2 separate regions of the Homo sapiens genome follow, and region 2 is linked to region 1. The links are contacts of gene promoters, found by promoter capture Hi-C in blood cells and fetal thymus (Javierre and others, 2016). All regions are on one chromosome and are shown on one strand. The core of a region is centred on a gene start or on the middle of the fragment in contact, and the rest is flanking DNA. Distances in the headings are between cores, read along the strand shown.

Region 1 (3,062 bases), core at 563-3,062:
GAAAAAATAAAAAGAAAAAAGAAAATAAAAATTTTAAAAAATATTACAACTGGACTTCGTGAATGAGTTTCTTAAGATAAACAAAGCGCACCCCAAACATACTCATTAGCCATCAACTACCAATTGCCATCAATAAAATACGTCCTGATACAAAACCTCATGGATGTTCACCCTGTTTTGCCCCCTCCTCAATTCAGAAGAAAATAAACAAGAGAATATTCTGGAATTCACAGCAACACAAACCCAGATCACCATGTGAATCTTTGCAAAAAATAATCTTGCTGTTACTACACCTGGCAACAAGGAAGCCACAGGTTTTCCCCTGCTAAAGAAAGTCCATCTGCAAAGAGGCTCCAATCACCCCCAGACCCTCAAGGCAAAGTCTGTGTTCTATTTCCACCCCTGGGGTTACTCTCCAACCCCACTGGCTTAAAATGGGAGATATATCAAAGTGTGGTAGGTTATTAAACACAATGATACCCTACTAAAAAAAACAAACAAACAAAACCAAACCCTCCAATGGGGCCCTGGAGGATGACTTTTCAACACTCCAAATGCAACCCTCGAGGAAAGGCCGGCAAAACAGGACAAGAAAGTATTTTTGGAAGCTGATCACCAGCTCCTAAGAACCAAGGCTGTTTCTCCTGATTCCTAAACAAAAGAGGAGAGAGAAACAGTCGTGTCCAGATTTGCCTACTGCGTTCACCAACAATCAAGACAGCACGAGACAGAAGTGCCTGCCTTCCTGGAACAAAGAGGCAAATCGCATTACGGAGAAGCTGAAGCCCAAAAGACTGGGGCTTAAACCACAGCAAGTGGACTCCAGACACCCAGTCAGGCTCCGCAGGCCACGTTACAGAAGAAAACTTGCCGGGGTTAAATCTAAGGGGCATCCCCAGAGAGGAGCTCCACGTGTTGCAGGGAAGGGAGGGCAGGACCACAGCTACCAGGGTCCTGGGCGTCCTCAGCTGCACCCCAAGTCTGCCCCGAGCCGAGGGTCAGGTAGGGCACATCAAGGGTGGACATCCCCCTTCTTCCCTGGTTCCCCCAAACTTCCCCCGCAGTATCTAAGTAGAAAGAACAAAAAAAACAAAGCTAGGTAACCACAGAAGAGTAATGTGGCTTGTACGACAACTTTGGGGAGACAATGAAAGTCCCTTTCTACAATCTAAGCCCCTCCCCAGCTCACCCCGTTGGTCACGGAGTATTTTTCGTGAAAAGGGGGGACCCTAACCACAAAAAAGATGGGAAAACAGAAGCAGAGAGACACCCCTCTTCCCGCCCCCCATCTCTAGCGTCCCCTTCCCTGGAAGGTTGTTTTTACAGACGGGAACCCCAAAACAGGAAGGCCTCCTCACGGCGGCTCTGACCCGACCCGACCCTCCAAAACCCCAGGGCTGGGCACGCGGCCCCCCACGCTCTGCTCCGCAGGAACTGAGTCACCCAAGTTTCCCCCATGCCTTGCACCCCCGAAAGGGGCTGGGCCGCGGGCGACGTGAGGGTCCCGGGCCCCCGAGGCCGGCAGCAGAGCGGGGAGCGGGGTGCCCCGGGCGGCTGCGGGCCCGGTGCTTTCCCTCCCCGCCGGCCTCCCTCCGTCCCGCCGGCCTCACGCGGCCCCCGGCACGTACCCAGAGCGGGTCGGAGCCATCGGCGCTGCAGAAGCCCCGGAGCGCCATGCCGGTGGCGCGGGCGGCGGCGGGCACCGGGCGGCGGGTGATCGGGCCCGGTTGCTGGCGCGGGCGGCGGCGGGCACCGGGCGGCGGGTGATCGGGCCCGGCTGCTGGCGCTAGCGCTGGCGGCGGCGGCGGCGGCGGCGCAGGGAGCCGGGGCCGGGGCCGCAACGCCGCCTGGTTGGCCCGCGCGTCACGGGGATGCGGCGGCCCCGCCCCACCCCGCCCCGCCCCGGCGCCCGCTCACCTCGCGCGTCTCGGCGTGGGCAGCCGGACCAGCCACCTCTCGGCGCCCCGGGCCTGGACCCCGCGCCACCCCCACCCCAGATCCTCCAAGGCTTAGGCCCACCCGCTCGCGGACGGGCCTGGGGAGCGTTGGCTCGCCTTCCGGAAGCGCCTGGGATCTTTGGGGCCACACACCCTGCGACCACTTTTCAAATGCTGTTTAAGGACAGTATCCGTCACCAGGGGAAAATAACGTGAACGGAGCCCCCTACCTGCCTGGAGTGTACCGGGCGCCTTAACTGTGCCCTCATTTCATCCTGTAAAGTCTCCACGTTCATGAAGGAAGAAACCCAGGTGCAGAGAGGTTGAGTGATTCCCTCTGCCCAGGGTCACCTGGCTAATCACTTGCAGGGCTGGGATTTGAACCCGGTCCGCTGACTCCAAAGCTGAGTCACACAGAAGGAGGTGAATACTGTTATTCACCTACCTTTTACAGATGGGGAAACTGAGGTTCAGAAAGGCGAAGTGACTTGCCCGAGGTCACACAGTTAATAAGGAGTGAAAGTGGAAGTGAGATTCAAACCCGTGAGCAGCCTGATTCCGGAGCACTGATGACCCAGACGGCGCCAGTCTCCATCACTAACAGCTGTTGACCTCACCTGTGTGCAGAGCGCCTTTGCTTCTTCTCAACCTCTTTAAGCATCACTTAGAAATAACCAGGTTATTGATCCTCACCTCAGAGGTAAGGAAACTGAAGCCTGGAGACATGATAATCGTAGGCCAGGCATGGTGGCTCGTGCTTGTAATCAAGCACTTTGGGAAGCCGAGGCGGGCCGATCACATAAGGTCAGGAGTTCAAGACCAGCCTAGCCAACATAGCAAAACCCTGTCTCTACTAAAAACACAAAAATTAGCCGGGCATGGTGGCGGGCACCTGTAGTCCCAGCTACTTGAGAAGCTGAAACAGGAGAATCACTTGAACCTGGGAGGCGGAGGTTGAAATGAGCTTAGATCACACCACTGCACTCCAGCCTGGGCAACAGAGCAAGACTCTGTCTCAAAAAATAATAATAAAAAAAATTAATATGCATTCACAGTGACAAGGCTTCCTAAGGCTGTGTTCTTAGCAATTTACACAAATTAACTTGTGCAATCCTCACAACCCCA
Region 2 (3,062 bases), core at 331-2,830, 310 kb after region 1:
GGAACTAAAGGATGTACCATCACCCCTTCATGCTGGCTCTAAGCTTTTTCCAGCAGTCCCACTTCCTGATATTCGTTCTCTTCAGCAGCCTAAAATACAGCTTTCTTCTGTCCCCAAAGTAAGCTGCTGTGCTCATTGCCCTAATGAACCCTCCACTTCGCCAATGCGTTTTGGTGGTGGTGGTGGCGGTAGCGGAGGTACCAGTAGCTTGATTCACCCGGGCGCACTGTTAGACTCGCAAAGCACCAGGACAATCACGTGTCAGGTAGGGTCAGGGTTTGCTTTCCAGTCTGCATCTTCACTCCAGAATGCCTCAGCTAGGAACAATTTGGCAGGCATTGCAAGTGACTTTCCCAGCATGTGTCTAGAGAGTAACCTGTCTTCCTGCAAACACCTGCCCTGTTGTGGAAAACTCCACTTCCAGTCATGTCATGGTAATGTGCACAAGCTGCATCAGTTTCCGAGTCTGCAGGGCTGCACCTCCGCTGGCTATTTCCCCTGTTCTGATTTCACAAGCGGGGCTCCAGGGCATTTGGAAGAGCACATTTCACAGTCGGAGCTAACGCCTCACTTGTGCACCAACTCTTTGCACCTTAATGTGGTACCTCCGGTTTGTTTAAAGGGCTCACTTTACTGCGAAGACTGTCTAAACAAGGTTCGTATCTTTTTATTTCTTAAGTTGGGTGCAGCTGAGGATTGAGGAATGACTTTTGAAGTGGATTTATCTTGAAAAGTATTATACATGGGGTTGAAGATTCTCCCATGGTATAGGGGAATCTCCCCATCAGCATAATTTTTGCTGGTTCTGAAAGAAACAAAGGGTAAGATGGGAGATCATTCAAAAAAGTAGAGAGTCATTATTTTTGTAGTTTATACTTTTAGAGCCTCTTGTTGCAAACAAGAGGTTGGCAAAGCCTTCGTGTTCTATGTTTAAAGGCTAAAGCACGATGGATTTTTTATAACTTACATTCAGCTTACACATGGGCCCATTCATGTAAGGTAGATAACTGCATGTTGTCTTTTTGCAATAATGTGGGAAACCTGAAGCTTGGCCTCAGTCACATTGGTGTTCAAGTGAGACTTTGCTACCCTTTATGTAAAATATGTGTGAGGTCTTCGTTGCAGCAGACTCATGCCCCAGAATGTAAAGATCTGACCACGTGAATATCTTTCTTGATCATGTCAAGTCACTTCTGGAAATGAATTTATGAACTGATAGCTAATGGTTCTTGGAAAGATTATTTGAAAGTCCTTTTTATTAGAGGCTAGCAAGTGGAAAGGTAAAACACTTAGAGTGTATTTTCAGTTGTTGTATATAACTCCAGCTTCTGAAATGATGTATCTGACACCTCCTCCTTTTTAAAAAAAATTTAAAACAGCCAGCAAGAAATAGCATAATCGATGCGGCTAAAGTCTGGCCAAATATACCACCTCCAAATACTCAACCTGCACCTCTTGCTGTCCCTCTGTGTAATGGCTGTGGAACCAAAGGAACAGGGAAGGAGACCACGTTGTTATTGGCGACCAGTCTAGGCAAAGCTGCTTCAAAATTTGGTAAATGACAGTATGGCATAAAATGTGCATATTTAAATAGCTTTCAATATCTCATACTAACATTGCATTTAATCACCTTTGAAGGATTCCTTATGGTTCTAAAGCTACTGTGTATGTGAGTCTCCAATTCCATATCTTGGTAGAAATCTTTTTATTATTATGGACCAGGAAGTCATTTGCCCTTTATGTTGGGCCGAGGCTATACACAGAAGCTGTGTATAGAAAAATTGGTAGTATATCAGGAGAAATAAAAGTGCTGGAAAAGACTTGGTGTCACCTTAGGTTGGAAATCACACTTGTTGATGGTATACTCCCTAGAAGTGCTTAGAACAATTTACTAATGGCTGATTAAAAACAGTATTTGAAAACCAAAGAGTTCTCAGTTAAAATAATTTCCCTAAAAAGTAGTTAATGCGACGTTTTGAAAACATTTTTAAAATATTAAATCAGATGTTAATGCAGCGTTAACTCAAAATCAACGACAGTAACAGCTTCACCCTTTGTCAGCTCCTCAGTGTTGGTTACTACCAAGTAGGTAGATAAGTGTGGGCTAAGCTTGAAAGTCGGGTCCTGGAGCTGCAGTATCCGGTCAGTTAGTGTGCTTGTGTTCAGAGAAGCATCACTGCTTAATGTCAGAGTGGCTCATGCTTGGAGGTGGATTTATTGTGGGCTTAAAGTTACTTGACTTTTAGATTTGTCTTCTCCTGAAAAACAGAAATAATCTCTTAGAGTGATACTTTTTGACAGCTTGATTGCTTATTAGGTCAACCAGTGAGGTTGGTAGCCTTAAAACTTGGCATTCATTAATAATTTAGTTTTTCTACCACTGAGAATGATAGGTAGTTTATTATCTTATTGTAACTTGCCATTTATTTTCCACTACAAGTAATTGAAAATGTTAACATTTCTTAAGGGTCACCAGAAGTTGCAGTAGCTGGACAGGTGCTAGAAAACTTACCCCCCATTGGAGTTTTTTGGGATATTGAAAACTGCTCCGTTCCCTCTGGCCGGTCAGCAACTGCTGTTGTGCAAAGAATCCGTGAGAAGTTTTTTAAAGGCCACAGAGAAGCAGAATTCATCTGTGTATGTGACATCAGTAAAGAAAACAAGGAAGTTATTCAAGAGCTGAATAATTGCCAGGTAAAAAAAAAAAATTTAATAATTTTAATCTACAGTAGAGGAATAAGCAGATATTTGTTTGTTTGTTTGTTTTGAGACAGAGTCTAAGTGTCACCCAGGCTGGAGTGCAGTGACGCATTCATGGCTCCCTGCAGCCTCGAACCCTGGGACCCCAGTGATCCTCCCACCTCAGCCTCCCAACTAGCCAGGATCACAGATGCACGCCATCATGCTCGGCTCATTTTTTATTTTTTGTAGAGACGAGGTCTCCCTATGTTCCAACCAGAAACAGAAACTAAGAACCCATGACTGTATTCTGTCCCTTGGACACCCCTGGATGGCTTTCAGGATCCAGGGTTAGGTGGTGGAGGCTTGTCTCAAACTCCTGG

What was found. The method cuts DNA at HindIII sites, captures the fragments that hold promoters and counts their contacts. A CHiCAGO score of 5 or more calls a contact.
Region 2: a contact is called between a fragment that was not itself captured here and the fragment with the promoter of ABCC1 in region 1, in 1 of 17 cell types (total CD4 T cells). The highest score is 5.2, in total CD4 T cells.

What each region holds. Positions count from the first base shown.
Region 1 is chr16:15,948,366-15,951,427 of GRCh38, reverse strand. It overlaps ABCC1 (ATP binding cassette subfamily C member 1 (ABCC1 blood group)), which reads right to left and starts at 1,812. Exons shown (of 31, transcript NM_004996.4): 1 at 1,629-1,812. The coding sequence starts at 1,676. LOC107984869 (a long non-coding RNA gene) reads left to right here and starts at 2,257. Exons shown (of 3, transcript XR_001752339.2): 1 at 2,257-2,637. The HindIII fragment of the contact is 23,517 bases long and covers 1-3,062 here.
Region 2 is chr16:15,633,249-15,636,310 of GRCh38, reverse strand. MARF1 (meiosis regulator and mRNA stability factor 1) reads left to right here. Exons shown (of 27, transcript NM_014647.4): 3 at 1-655; 4 at 1,380-1,554; 5 at 2,468-2,694. It overlaps LOC124903649 (a long non-coding RNA gene), which reads right to left and starts at 2,301. Exons shown (of 2, transcript XR_007065003.1): 1 at 2,052-2,301; 2 at 513-805. The HindIII fragment of the contact is 1,062 bases long and covers 1,050-2,111 here.